Linked DNA regions of Homo sapiens: region 2 is linked to region 1. Evidence: promoter capture Hi-C in human tissues and cell types (Jung and others, 2019). All regions are on one chromosome and are shown on one strand. The core of a region is centred on a gene start or on the middle of the fragment in contact, and the rest is flanking DNA. Distances in the headings are between cores, read along the strand shown. Region 1 holds the start of NECAB1 (N-terminal EF-hand calcium binding protein 1). Region 2 overlaps LOC124901975 (a long non-coding RNA gene).

What was found. Contacts are between HindIII fragments. The study calls those that stand out against the background at their distance.
Region 2: a fragment that was not itself captured here is called in contact with the fragment with the promoter of NECAB1 in region 1 in 4 of the 25 tissues and cell types used here (H1 embryonic stem cells, heart right ventricle, spleen and 1 more).

What each region holds. Positions count from the first base shown.
Region 1 is chr8:90,787,700-90,795,554 of GRCh38, reverse strand. NECAB1 (N-terminal EF-hand calcium binding protein 1) reads right to left here and starts at 3,780. Exons shown (of 13, transcript NM_022351.5): 1 at 3,570-3,780. The coding sequence starts at 3,668. It overlaps LOC105375633 (a long non-coding RNA gene), which reads left to right and starts at 3,387. Exons shown (of 4, transcript XR_928389.4): 1 at 3,387-4,117. The HindIII fragment of the contact is 16,269 bases long and covers 1-7,855 here.
Region 2 is chr8:90,529,739-90,537,593 of GRCh38, reverse strand. LOC124901975 (a long non-coding RNA gene) reads left to right here. Exons shown (of 8, transcript XR_007061002.1): 3 at 2,968-3,052. Among named protein-coding and RNA genes, the nearest start is that of LINC01030, 72 kb to the left of the region's middle. RefSeq lists an enhancer at 559-853 and a silencer at 559-853. The HindIII fragment of the contact is 7,720 bases long and covers 1-6,799 here.

The DNA.
Region 1 (7,855 bases), core at 2,531-5,030:
GTGAAAAGAAACTATTTCTTGTTTTCACCAAGTTCCTGACCATCTATGCTCTGTATCTTGCATTCAGAGTGTACATGAGTGTGCATGCTTAGACGAAGGAAGGAAGGGAAGACAAGCAGTAAAGTCATTCATCCCCCTCACAACTTTCCAGCCTCTTTCCCTCTTTAGCAGTGAAGTGGGGAACAGTCACTTCCCTTCCAGTTAAAAATCAAAGGAAAACTGATGGGAAAGGAAAGTGGCATTGGGTGGATGAAGTTGCTACTAATTTCGTTTGGGAATTTCTCTTGCTTTTGGGGATGAGTTGAAGGTTTGTTTTTCTCCCTTTTCACAGTAGCGGAGTTGATTAATGTAATGACTCAAAAGAGGAGACACATGCTACATAGACTAGTATTCCAAACTAGAGTTCCTCTTCTGTTAACTGGATTGCAGCAACTGGGGAAATGATAGTCCATTGGTGTAAAAGGAAAAGCAATAGTAATCCCTGTGGTCCTATGTGTTGCCAGGACCCAGTTGAGTCCCTCTCCTGTGGCTGGCAGGCATGCCATATGCAAATGCTTGCTCCAGCCTCAATGCACTGGCATACCTTGGCACCAGTGCTAGGTTTTCTAAGCCTCCCATCAGTATTCAAGAGTATTTATGATGAACCGATACTTAATTCTGTCATATTCTAGCAAGACAATTCTATAAATTAGATTCATGAAGAAATAGTCCCTGCATCAGTTTGTGGATTTAGCTACTGTTACTGTTATTTAATACACTCAGTGTGCAGCACTGAAATAACCATAATACTTCAAATTTATGCAATACTTTTTGCTTTGTTTCCATTTTCCCTTATTTCATACTCACAACAGCCTAAGGAAGTATCATAGTGATTACTATTGCTGATTTGGAGAGGATACTGAAGGAAAAGCCAACAGTTGTGGCAAATCTATCTCTGATTTTCTTGTTAAAATCTGTCTCTAGTTTCCAACCAGCTGGTCATGTATCATGTCATTAATAGTGTTCTCAGTAGCAGTTTACATCATTTCTTAAATGATTGATTATTCCAGTGACATTGCAATAAAAAGCACTGCAAATCAAAGTTTTCCTCAAATTTGGAAATTGTCTGTTTGATACAGAAGACACACAGAAAATTACCTGTTCCAGTTTGGAACAGGTAATATCTATCACCTATGTATTATAATATGAAGATAATTTTAAAAGTAATCTTTCTTGCTAGTGCCATAGAATATATTAAATCAAATAAATAAAGTGATGCATGTATATTTTATATTTTATTTTGCTAAAAGTGGTATGATCCAGAAATGAATAATTCACAAATCCCTAAGTAACAAATCATTTTTCATATCACATATTTCACCAGTGTTAGATTTTTCACAAAATAACTCAAAGAAAAGTGTAAACAAAATCTTTTCCATTTGACACAAAATCCAATGGCAGGTTTTTTTTGTAGACTCTAGCATTTTACCGACAAACAAGCATGTCAACACCTCTCATAGGGAATCAGTTTCCTATTTTTATTTTTAAATCTCTGAAATATAAAAGGCAAGACCACCCTATTCACAGACTACAAGTTCCTTTAGTACAGGGACCTGATGCTATTTGTTTACAGACTTGGAAACAATCATGCATACATAATAAAAAATGAAATTTTAATTTTCTCTTCGAAAACATTGCAGTTGAACACTTAAGCAATGGCTGGTGTATGAGTCAGGAGGATGACTTTCCATTTGTGTAGTTTTAATCCATTCATCTCCACACTATCACCGGGGTTTGTTAAGTGCTTTTTAAAAAGCACAGGGAAGCACTTGATCTCAATGGGGGACAGAGTGAAGATCAGGTCAGAATGAATGGAGGCCCCACTTGTCCCCTTTGAATCAACTCCATGGCCCCTTAATTGTCAGCCTCATAACTGACATGATTTCCAGGGGCCCTGACTTTTCAGGCATGTTGTGGTGCCCTTCTCTTTTCTCAGCTTACCTCCTCAAGTGCTTTATGGCCCTGAACAGCAAAACTTGAATAAGATCAGCCCGTTAAGCCATGAGCACCAATAATACCATCTGACTGACCCAAGCCAGGCAGAGATAAATGCTCATGAAGGATAAGGTACTTAACCACCTGATTGGGTGGCTGAATAGGAATGACCACACCTGAGATTTGGTGGGAAGGAGATGACCAGCCCAGAATGCCTGGATCACCAATTGGAGCCACCAGGTGATAAAGGGTGAAGGCTGCCAGTACACACAGTTGAACCTCACTTCTATCATTTGCCTTACAACAGTTTGAATTATTGATAGGAGTTTCTTTCCCTAGAATTAAAAAGAATTCTAGCCAATCCATTCAAAATAAACTTGGGAGAGCGCCTCACATCCTCCTATCCTCTTTATCTCTGCCTCACCATTATGATACTAATTGATTTCCTCATATTTTCATCTCTCCACAAACAAATGTATCTGGCTTCTGGCCCATCTCCCACTCATTTTGACTTTAATAAGAAAAGATAACTCAGAGAAGGGTAAAGGACAGAGCACGTAGCACTCCTCCATGTCCTTTGACATTTTCTATCATGCCTAAACAAGAAGCAGACAGAATTGTCCCCACTGAGATAGACACGACCTCCGGCAACAGCATGAATGTGACAACTGAGGGGCTGGGAGAGCCTGGAGCCCGGCAAGCAGCTGAGAGAAACCCCAAAGCAGAGAGAAGAGATAGGCAACAGACGGAAAAATAGAGAAAACAGAAACAGCAGGCAGGAGAGGAAAACAAAATTGAGAAATAAATAAGAAATAAAAGTGCTGTAAAGATAGAAACCACACCATACGGGAAAAAGAAACAGCACAGAAGGAAAAGAAAGGATGTAATCAGATCAGAGTAATGAAGGCAGGCAGTCGATACCGAAGTGAGAAATTGGACCAAAGGGAAAATAGTCAAAAGCTAGAATTCATGGAGGTGACAGTAGTAATTAGAACTTGGAGAGAAGGAGAATATCAGGGAAGAAAAAGGGAAAATAGAAGAGGTGGCAGTGACAAAAAGAATCATTATGAAAATGATATTTCCCACCGCTGTAAAAAGAAAAACAAATATGCTCAAAGTAATTGTTTTCCGAGGGGGTCTGGGGGAGGATAACGAGGGCATCTCAATCGCTGCTGCTTCCCTGGCTGGGTTGCTTGAGAGCATCCACGAGTGTGAAGGCTGCGAATAGGGCGCGTTAGAGAGATGAGTTGGGACACTGTCCCCACCTCACCCCCCACACCTTGTGCCTCTTTAAAATGTCCTATGCACTCAAATGTTGTCTGTTGTATTTGCAATAGTGTCTCTACGAAACCCAGCCTGTTGGAAAATCTAACTTTTGCAGTTTTCTTAAGGGTGTTAAGCCACAAGCTGCAGGTCTGGGACAGCCCTAGCTGCAAGTTAAGGGACAGTCGTTCCTCCTGCATTTGCATCGGTAGTTCTCGCCTGTGTTCTGGGGACAAAGCATTGGCTGGTCAGCACCTGAGCCGAACCCCTTCCTTTCGGGGAAAAGAAAGGTGCTGGGAAGCAACCGCCCAGCTCCCACCATCTGTACTTACGTCGAGGAAGATCGACATGCCCTTGGACAGGTGCAGAGCAGAGCTGAGCTCCTCCGAGGAGTTGTTGGAGGACGGCGATGTCTCCTGGGAATCTTCCATCCTCGGGAGCCCTGACGGCCTCAGGCGGAGCGGGGCTAGGCGGACGCACCGGCTCTGGCAAGGGCGCGGCCGCAGCTGCTGCTTCGCCGCCGCCGGGCTCTGGATCCGGGAGGGTGTTCGCTCCCGCGCGCGCCTCCCTCCGCGCTCTCCGCGCTCTCCGCGCTCGGTGTCCCCCCCTCCCTCCTCCGGCCTCTGCGCTCCCACGCGCTCCAACTCTCGCCTCCTCCTTCCCGTAGTTGACGGCGTCTGGATCCATGTCATCCCCGCACGTAGCAACGCGCGGAGGGGAGCGGGCTCTGCCCCCGGCACGGCCATCGGCCACGGCTGGAGATAGCCTGGGGACCCCTACCAGCCCCACGACGGCCCCAAGTGCAGGGATGGAGGAGGGCGTCCGGACAGAGAGAAGGGACGAATGGCAGGGCGTTTGTCCTGAGCAGCCAAAGCGCAAGGTAAGGACGCCCCCAGCCTCACCTGAGTGGATGCCATAAATAGGGAGGAACTCAGAGAGGTTCTACCTACTCTGCTTTTGGTCCCAGTGGCCTGTCTGCCCGACCTTCCCCAAAGGCGGGGGCAGGGTTCACGAATACCAGCAATCGAGGAGCAGCTGGTTTGGTGTAGGGATTAAGCCATTCGGTGTTATCTTGCGCTCGAAGGACTTAACCTGTAAGCCTCACTTTTCCTCATCAGTAAAATGGTTACACCGGTCTCACCCCAGAGGGTTCTGAGGCTTACCTATGGCAGTGCTGCTGACAAAGGCGGTGCTATGAACTCTGCCTAGAGTAGGCTTCGAAACGTTTGCTATGGGGCAAGGATTGTTAGGTAATGTTCAAATATGAAGTTTCCCAAAGTCACAAGACGAAGTCCTTATCTGTGTTTAAGCATTTAAACCAGGGTAATTATTCAATATTTGACGGCTTCTGCGAAGGCTGTAAAAATAGGAAACTGACCACACCTTTCATCAGGAGAGAGATCCAGTTTATTGGGCATCTAAAATGTGTATGTGTTGGTTACAAACTTGAGCTATCTGGGAGCGAGATAAGGCAAAAAAGAGGGAACCTTGTCTAAACAAGACTCTGCCTCTACCAGTGAGAACGGGTGAGGAGGATCCAGATCTCCATTTTGTGGCCTTTGGAGAAAAGTAAACATATTCTTCCTATAAGACAGGCCCACACACAACCAAAATGCTGATCAACATGTGAGTGTCTTAAAGGCATGTAAAACATGCTAGGGGTTTCTCAGGAGAGACAGGTTACACTCTGGCTGGGGGGACCAATAAAAGCTTGATGAAAGAAGCGGTATATGAAATGGACCTTAAAAATCAGTGGATACTCCATGCTTGATAGAAATAGAAGGAAAACACTTCCAGGCAGAAGGAACAGCGTAAGCAAAGCATGGCACCAGGAAAGCACGTGGAAGCTGGAAGTAGTCCACTGGGGATTCCTATAAACATACAGAATCCCAGATCCTACCTGGGCTTTCCAAATCCCAATACTAAAGTACTGTCTAGTCCAGAAATCCAAGTCCCCCTCACCCTAATGATTCATACACAGTTGCTATGTAGTAGGCTCAGGACTAGGGTGTGGCAAGTGGGGCCACTTGAGCACAGAATGTAAGGAGGCACTTGCTCTCAATCTCTATCCTGTGCTTGCATGATCCTGAGAATGATTTTCTTAAATTTTGCACCCTAGGTGTCTTGTTCACTTCACCCAAGTCCCACTGCTCCTTTGTAGATGGGTGCTTACAAAAAAAAAAAATGAATCCAGTTGTTCTCAACGCTGCCTGTACATTGGAATCACCTGGGGTGTGTGGTAACTTTAAAATGTGCCCACAAATTCATTGACATTCTTCCTATAGAGAAGTGGGTCCCCTCCCCTTAAATCTGAAAGATTGTGACTGCTACAATGAATGAAATGGAACAGAAGTGTTGCTATGTGCTTTCCGAGGGTAGGGGCATAAAAGCCTTTGCAATTCCACTTTTTACAGTGGATTTGCTCCTGGATTCTTGAACTTCCGTATAGGAAGTTTTTCTACCTTAAGCCACCATGCTTTGAGGAAGCCCAAGGTATATGGAAAGGCAAGTGTAGACACCTGGCTTACAGGTATAGCTAAGCAGAGCCTTTGCATTATCCCAGCCTCAGCAGCAGAAATGTCAATGAGGAAGCCTGCAAATGACTCCAGCTCCCAGCTCTTGCAGACATCCCTAGCCATGTGAGTTGTCCCAGCCAAAACCCCAGGCATCATGGAGTAAAGGCACACTACCAGTGCTGTGCTGTGTCAGAACAGTTGGACCACAGAATTGGGAACATAATAAAATGTATACCGTTTCATACAAATAAGTGTTGAGGTGGTTGGATTTGTAACAATAGATAACCAAAATAAGGAGCTAACCCTCCCTGCACAAACACACACACACACAAACCAAACTGATGCCTGTGCTTCATCCTCAAATTCACTTTCAATTAGTATGCGGTGGGCCCAGTGGATTAATGTTTGTTTGTTTGAAGATTTCCATGTGATTCTGATGTGCAGCAAGGATTAAGAATCACCAAACTTAACTGTGCTGTACATACAGTACAGGAAAAAAGTAGAATAAAATCTCAGAAAATAGGCAGAGGCTATAGGATGAAAATCTGTGAAGCCCGGGGATAGAACTCTGGACTTAATTAGGTAGAGAGTTAGAGACATTAAACTTAATCAGGGGTGAGATATTGATTGGAGCTGTGCTTTAGGAATATTCATCTGACATCTTTATGTGCATTTTCCTAATTAACTGCAAATTTCCTTACCTGAACAGTGAGAATAGACCCTTCTCTTTGACAACTGTTCATCAAAATAGATACAAAATCATTTAAAAAAAAAACATACTGGTCAACCCATCAGATAGACACAGGTCATTCAAATCACTGAAGGAGAAAAACCACGAGAAGGAGGGGGGCTGTCAACCATTAACATCAAGTTACTGAATTTATCAAAATAACATGTTGTTTATTCCTGCCATTGGATGAAGAATGGAATAGATTTTTCTGCAACAAGTGCAGTTTAAGTCTGACCCCTCTAACCCAAGTTGTGCGGGTCCCTCAGCCCTCAAATTCAACCACACAAGTGATAATATTTTTATGCCAATCCCATGGTAACAAGAATAGTTAATAAAGGAGACTTTCTCTGATTATAAATGAAGAACAGGAGAATAATCAGCAGTCATCATTCAAAACCAGGAAGCTGTTTGTAACACTTTAGTTACAAACACTTCAGTTACAGGAAGCTGTTTGTAACACTTTACTGACAATGAATGACATTTTCTGTACCTGTGGATTTGCTTATTTCCTCTAATGGTCTATCAAGGAGAAACATAAATTATTAAGCAATCAACCGATCATTATTTATTTTTATGATTCCTATGTGAACACAGGAATACATTCTGCTGTAACTGACTTCTCTTTTTAATGGAAATGTAATGTTCACAGAGGCTGTAGTAGAAAAAATGGCAATTAGATTCACATTCACAGACAAATTCAATAGGCTCTACGAAGTGGCAACCAAACATATTTTTATAGTTTTCTTTTTATCTAGATGGCATGCATTTTTGAAAGCAGTTTTCACACATTTTCGTGAAACACACATGCCTCACTGCTGTGCATAGTATCAGTCACAAACAGCAGACAACCGACTTGAGGGAGGAAATGCAACTTCTTTGTAGCAAGGGCCTAAAAAAAATAGAAATGTAATTCCAGATTCCAGCTCTCAGGCTTCCTATGATAAGACTTTGACGTGAAGATATTTCTAGCATTTCAGGAGATGATAGCTGTGTGGGAATATATTGTATTTCAATCCATCTCTGCCTTGTAGAAGAACTATTATCTAAACCATTTCAGACAGCTGGGAATCTATCTTATTTATATCTTAAATTCTAGGGAAGGTTATCCTTCCCTTTTGAGTGATGACTCAGAATCCTTTCAGTCAGGTTAGTGGACATTTTTGTTGCCTTGGCAGCTTAGGATCCAAATCCCCTTCCGCTTTAAGTGCCTATCCCCATGGTGTGTTTCCTGACTGGGGGCAGAACTCGCCCCTTCTGAAGGAAAGAAAGGAGATCCTCTCCCTCTTCTCTGGTAGCTGGAGCACAGGCTGAGAGCTAGGCTCAGCTGATAGGACACTTCACTTGTGTGTTTAAACCTGAATCAAGGGATGTG
Region 2 (7,855 bases), core at 1,690-4,189, 260 kb after region 1:
CTTTGCTCATGAGGAAGCTCAAAAAACTTATGTCCTGCCCAACGTCCCAGCAGTTGATTGAAGAGTAGCAGACCATGTCTTCTGACCCCTGGGCTGAGCTCTTCTCACCCTAGCACCTGAGGCCCTTTCCATCTAGATCATATAATTCTAATAAGTATCAAATGAAAAATTGTGGAGGCTTTTCTGGCATCTAGGTATATGAATTTAATTAACAATAATAATAATAATTCAGTTATATATTTTAAATGGTTCACAGATTATGGTAAAATAGTCCTAAACACTGCTTAGTACTGTCCTCCAAATTTAAAAGCAGGAGATTCTGAATATTTGCAGGGTGACATCTGTCACTTCTCACCTGCCTTCTCTTTCTGTATAATGAAAGAGACGGGTTGGGGAGGAAAGCCTCAGGGGACTCCAGTTAGCTGGTATGGCTGATGAGGCCGCAGAAATTAAGTATTTTTTAGTTTGTGATTTCATAGCCAAGGAGACATTCTAATATTTGCTGGGCTATCAGACACAAAATCTCTGGTTTCACCTGGATTGGCTGCAAGAGTAGAGAGGGGATAATTCTGGCCTTCATTTATAGGTTGTCTTTGGCTTATGAGACCTGATATTCTGGGTTTACTGACTTCTTTGGAGCACATGAGAACAAAACAGTACTGGAGGTAAGGCGGAACTGAGTCATCCTAGAAATGCAGGCAGGGTTGATTTAATCATCCATCGGGACATAAAACACATTTTTTGAATTTATGCCCAAATTTTCCTCACCCAGAAGGGAAAGTTCAGGAAGTCAGTGTTGTACTTTCTAAGGACTACTAGACATTTACTCACTTGCTAAATCTCAGAGTTGTAAGGTACTTCAAGTCCAATTCCCCTATTTTGTGTATGGGAAAACTGAGTAGTAGAAAGAATTGAGGTTAATTCACTCAATTAACTGGACATAGGCACTCAAGAACAGAAGCAAGCCTAGATTCTGGGTCTCCTTAGCCCAGTTCATTTTCTGTTATATCACATCAAATTTGAGAAAAGAAAACTATTATGTTGATGGAATAAAGAACACACTTAATATGTGTAAGTGAGTGATCCTCCAGAAAAAGTGACACAGTGAAAGATGAGAAGAACTTCAAGTCAATCAAATACCATCTGGATAAAGAAGACTCAAATCTAAAAGAAACGTTCAGGCATGAGACTCTTTGAAACAAATGCATATTGGACAGATCCTTATTTCAGGAGTATATTTTGGTAAAAGTTTTTACCCATCAGGCTACCATGTTCTGTGTCATTGAGTAAATTACTGCGAAGTCTTAACTCTTGTTACACTTGCCACTAATGGGTAGTGACAGAGTTGAACCCCTCCTTTCTTTCCTTTTCCTTTTCCTTTTATACTAAAAAGCCTGAGTCTGTGTTGGGAGGGGACAGCTCAGAAACAACAAAAAGAGCCATAACATTTCTTCAGGCTGGAGGGCAGGAGCTCTCTTTGCAAATGCAATATGTCGCCAGATGAGCTTGTTATAAGGCAGAGCCCCATGCTTATCCACAGGTATTCTGAATTGGTCTGGGTTGGGGACCAGCTACATCAGCTTTTCTACATTTTCAGACATGCTGCCCTTGGGATTGGGTGTCATTACCTCGATCCTATGGCCAAGGGCCTGAAAAAAGTAAGTTATCTTTGACCTTGATGAATTGAAGATCATTCTGGAGCAGCTTAAGATTTTGTTAAGAGTAATGAAAACAGTATAAGGCAGAATGAATCTATTGCATCTTACTTTCACACAAGTATTTCTCACAGTTACTGGTACCATGTACATTCCTAACAACTGAGCATTGGGTCTATGAGTGATCCATGGGAAACAGGAGGAATGCCCTGACTACGAAAGTCAGTTTCCTTAATTTAAGGGATTGCATGTCAGTTGGTCTGCTTATTCTGGGTACTGAAATTCTGAGTAGACTTTTATCTTTAACAAAATAAAAATTACTTATGATTACAACAAAATAAAAAGTCAAGAATAATCAAACCACCCTCTGGGATAAGAATTGTATGAAGTTGCTATGCAGGAAACAACAACAAAATGAAGATCTAAGCAAGGGATTGCAAATGAATTTAGTGGAATTCTGTCATAAACTTCCTGACGTCCTCCTATGGGAGTGGTAAAACCCCTCAGCAGGTGGGACTATGGGGTGGTTTTAGTAATTGGGTCTGTAACTGGGTCTTCAGCTGTCTTTGTTCATTGATCCACTTTTTTCCCTCTGTCTCACTGACCTTCTCCCATGCCAGTCCGTGCTGCAATGCTTGTTTCTATGGATTAAATTTCTAAATATCTCTTGTAGAGGATTCCTCAGTTTCTCTTCCTGCAGTTGCTCAATGGTTAGATTTTAAAGAAATTGCTTGTGAAGTGAATCACTAAAAGCACTTGCTTTTGCTTATATACTGTACAAAATTGTATTTTTGGAAATTCTGGTTGATAACCCCTTTTTCGCCCTTTGTATCTCTACCAATTTGCAGCAATGTTTCAGGAGAATAACATTACACCCTCTATTTGATCCATAAGGAACTTGTACATTAAAACCTGCCTGCATTTACTCTGACATTGGTGGAATAACAGCCTCACGGTCTTTCTTAAGAGACATCTTCTCTGATTGTAGCAGCCTGAGGCTTTTCTATTTACTTCTATGTGTATGTGTTGTATAGGTGCAGTACGGTTTTTATAAGCACTGTCCTAACTCAGTTTGGAGATCCTGGCTTGAGGCTAGTCAGTTTTTCTTCTAGAGAAGCTGATTAAATCCAAAACTCCAACCACCTCCCTTCTTGGTCTTTTCTAATTTGGGTCACTATCAATGAGCTCCAATCACCCCAGGGCCAGGTACCAGATAACCAGGGACAGCCCCTGTGCCCCAGAACCTGCTGATAGTATTCAAAGTAGCCAATTCTAAACCTGTTTACCATGCCTTGTCTGTTTCTTCCTGCAGAAACCACAATTAAAAGTTGTTCTTCCTGCCTCTGCTTCTTGACCAACCCCTGAGTGGCCCTGTATAGTGTTCTCCCTAGGAAACTGTGAGTATAACAAAACTATAAAAACCGTGCTTTTTCTCTCTTGACCTGCATCTGGCCTCACCATAGCCACCATACCTCACCCATGGTAAAATGGTCAAAACAATAGTTCATGCATGTTCCAAGTTTTCTCGATGATTATACTTCTTTTCTGTCACTCTAATACATACCGAAGAAGAGAAGAAAAGGAAATGATATAATAGCAAACAAATTCTCCATGTTCTAACAGATCTTCAATAGTTTTAAGGTAAATACCTAAAACAATTTGATGTAATACATGTGGGAGCAGGCTATGAGCGATTCCATTGGAATTCACTCAACATTTTTCAGATGGTTTGTTTTTACAGTTGTGTTCCACATAATGACATTTCCATTAATGGCAGACTGCATACATGACGGCAGTCCTGTAAGATTATAACACTGCATTTTTATTGTCCCTTTTCTGCTTACACATGTTTAGTTACACAAATACTTTCATTGTGTTGCCACTGCCTTATGGTATTCAATAGAGTAACATGCTGCATGAATTTGTTGCCTAGAAATCATGGGCTATAACTGTATAGTCTCAGTGTATTGTAGGCTGCACCATCTAGGTTTGTGTAAGTGCACTGTATGATATTTATATACCAATGAAATCGCCTCAGGATGCATTTCTCAGAATGTGTACCAGTTATTAAGTGACACATGACTGTATTTCATCATTTCTAGCATTTGAAGATTCACACTTCGTGGCATTATTTAAGGTTTGTAAGCTCAACTACTCTTTTGAAAAAGCCAAAACAACGTACAAAACATCTAAGCTTTCAGCAACTTCCAGGGAATAGAAAGTTAGTTTCATGTTAGCTGAAGTTATCCAAGGTTCCCAGCCTGGGACCCTGTGGCTGTAATCTTGTAGGCTGTCTCTGACTTCTAATGAGTTCATTCCATCCCTAGTGCTTATTCAGTCCTTCAAGGGACCCAGTTGTTTTCTCAAGTATATTATAATCTGAAGTAGGGGTGGACACAATTTTCCTGTAAATATCTTCAATGCCTTATCTACTTTCTAAACTTATGAGTAAAGGAAATTTGGAGAAATTGAAAAGAAGAAAAAAGAAAACAATAAGTAAAGAAGGAATTGCTGTTTGTTGCAATAAATTTAAAATAGTGATACATACTGCTTATAAAATAATGAAATATACCTAGCTATAAACTTCAGATATACATAAGAATGGTACTTAATATTGAGTTATATCTACATTAATACTCAACATAAAATGAAGAATTGAAATAGATTCTTTAATTAATTTACCTCTTTCCATCTCCCTTCCTCCAGTGTTTTCTCAGGAGGTTTTATTCTATATTTTTCTTTGCTTGGATAACTAGTAAGTGCTGTATAATTTTCTGAACAAATTCATGAGGGATAAATAATGTCACCAAGTTTACTATGGATCAATATTTCGAGTATAGTTAAGAAAAAACTATCCCCAACAGAATCTTACTTGTAATATGATTCATCATTTAGAGCTACTGTAAATAAAGCACTTTTGAAATTTAAGATAAATCTTATCACTGTGGTCTTATGTGCACCTGATGAACAATTCATCAATAATTAATCTAAAAAAAATTCCCAGTTGATGAATTCAAACAGAATTTTTCTCTCTAATTAGTTCACTGTAGAAATGGGTATTTCCTACTGTTATTGTATATTCTTGAATATGCATAAAACTGATGAAAATTACATGACTTGCTTTGATAGCTTAACAATACTGAATTGTGGTAATTGGGCTAAATTTTTTATGCCTGGATTCATTCAATGAAGTATTTCCTGTGCATATAAAATAAGATTCAGTTTCTAAAGCCCATATATATACTACACAGCTCATACCTCAAGAATATCATTTTAAATAGTGGGTCACGTTTGTAAGAGCAAAAAAGACTATTTACTAGAAGAAGTGGAATATTTAATTTTTAATTTTTTAAATAAACTAACAAATATTTGATATATACCAAAGAATACATTTAACATATATGTAAGTTACAGGGCATGATCAATGGATTTAATGACTGGCTTTTATACTTTAACTCTTAACAGGTCCATCAATGGATCTGTCTTGCATTTTTCCTGTTTGGTCCATGAATGGGCATTCTGCTGGAAAGAGGTCCCCAAGAGGTAGCTTGATCTCCTTGTGTCTCTTCTCTAACCTTCAATCACTGCTTTCATCACCCATCTGTCTAAGAGCCAGCCTTCTTTGTTTCAAGGAATAGAAACCAAGTTCCAGGAAATAGAAATAGAAGATGCCCCCTAACCACATCTGGCCATCCCACAATTCCTGTATTTGCATGTCAATGGTCCAGTTGCATTTGTAGACCAGTTCCTACGTGTATGGCTCTGATTGACCCAGTTTTATTGGTCCACTGTTGGATCAAACTACCATTTCCAGAGACATAGGGTCACAGGGTATAAATGTGGCTGTTGAGGCCAGACCTGGGGATTGAAGGAAGCTTCCAGAGGGAGATACACAGTTAACTGAGTACACAGTCTAAAGTTGTCCACAGTGAAATATCCATTTCCCATTTCCTAGTGTTTTGCCTGTAGCAATCATTTCTAGGTGAAGAATCAGAATTTCTAGCTTTCATTCAGGTGATAGCTCTGAAGTAGCTACTGCATGTGGGCATTATAAATATTGGATATTTTGCTTCAGACCCGGATTTTTTGAGAGAAAGCAGCTTATCCACTTCTTAGTTGTACAAAATGCTTGGTAGTTAAGCACCATCTGATTATTGGTCATCTCTTTCCAGAACCAATTTCTGTAGGGTGAATTGGATTTTCTCTAATTTTCTAGCTTGCTCTTTGGCATTTGTGCTAAAAGTTGAAGGCTGCAGGGAAGAAACTGGCTGGGTTGTATCTACCTGGATCCTATGTTTTGATACATTTAAATATTGGGAGGAAAATATTTTGTTTCCACTCATCAAGAAAAATTGCAGTGCACGAATCTGTATCTTTATCTGAAGTATAGCCAAATATATGTAGTGGTTATGGCATAAATATTCTAGACACAGAGAAAGAAATTTCTATTTTTTTTCAGAGAATTTTGGGTTAAGTCGGTAAGCAAAGAGTAAGTAAGGGATCAATTTGTTTTCCAGAAGAAACTGGCTGAAGCTACCTAGCATTACCCTGTGAACCCCACCTCAAGGCAGTGGGGGAATATAATAGATCCAGTAGCACAGAGTTATTCTATAGTAATTTGCCATTGCTTTTAATGGCAAAAACCACAATTACTTTCGCACCAACCTAATACTTCTTACTTAACATATGGGGAACTTGGTGATTTCTCTATGTCATTATCAGCACCTCACACAACACTGCAGGAGAGCATACTTGCTCAGATCTTGGACTCTGCATCAGTCAGAGTTGGGCTGGAATCTTTCCTCCATCTCTGTTTGTGTAATGTTGATCAATAACCCAGGCTCTTTGAATTTAATTGTCTCCATCTAAAATAATGTAATAGGCTCACCCTGTGGATCATATTAATGTTGGAAAAGGACTTAGTATAGGATCTAGGATCTGATTAACACTCAACAGGAATGGCTAACATTTACTGAGTACTTACAGTATGCCAGACAGAACACTATGTACTTTACATACACACTGAATCCTCATTATGATCCTATGAAGAGGTGCTACTTCACAGATTAGGAAATTGAGGCAGAAAATGTTCAGAACCTTGCCCAGGGCAACAGTGACAAAGCGAGGCAATCTGGCTAACATCTATGATCTTAACACTCTGTCGTGATGCCTTCTCAATGAATGATAGTTACTATTATTGGTGTCATTGCTGTTATTGTTGTTGCTGCTGTTACTTGGAAATTAGAGAATTCTGCACTCAAACTGAAGCACCAGTCACTAATTTGGGAAAGAGCTCTCACTATTCCAAAGGGATAACCAAGTTAGGTATATCTGGAAAAGGGTATTTGATGATATTAGTGTATAGGTAAAGGATATTCTATATAAGCACAGATCTTATTTTCCTCAAGCCCTCAATCTGCTTCCAAAATATCCCAGAATCTTCAATACTGTCTTTGGCTACTCAAAGTCTCAAAGTTGGCTGTCCTCCCCAACTTCCTCTTGCTCCTTAATTACTTCCACTTTCTGTCCATCAACAATACTCCTAAATCCCTTGGTGTGACTCACATCTCAACCATGTGCTAGAATGAAATATAGCTAGTTATCTAGTTAACCCCAAAAGGTAGATTACCTGAAAGGTTCCCAAAGAAATAATATTTTGAAATAAGAGCATATTAACAGAAATAAAGTTATAATCTCACACACTGTGTTAAAGTTTTGATGAATTTCAAGTAGCGTAGGGATTGGGGTAGGAAGAAGGGTTTGAAAGGAGGGGGGATGATTTTCTAACAGTTAAAATCACACTGAAGATTTTATCCTGCTATTAGGTTACACTGATTATAAAATTATTCCTAGAGAATAAGATAGCCTCTGGACCGTGCATCTCACTCTCCTCAAACATTGAGTACTTTTAATTTGACCAGCTGAAGGGGTACATTCAGCTACTCTCATTTAATCATTATGTTTCCAAATTAGCTCTTTACAGTAAGACTTAATACCATCAACTCTTATTAAGAAGAGGGACGGCCGGGCGCGGTGGCTCACGCCTGTAATCCCAGCACTTTGGGAAGCCGAGGGGGGCGGATCACGAGGTCAGGAGGTCGAGACCATCTTGGCTAACACGGTGAAACCCCGTCTCTACTAAAAATACAAAAAATTAGCCGGACGTGTTGGCAGGCGCCTGTAATCCCAGCTACTCAGGA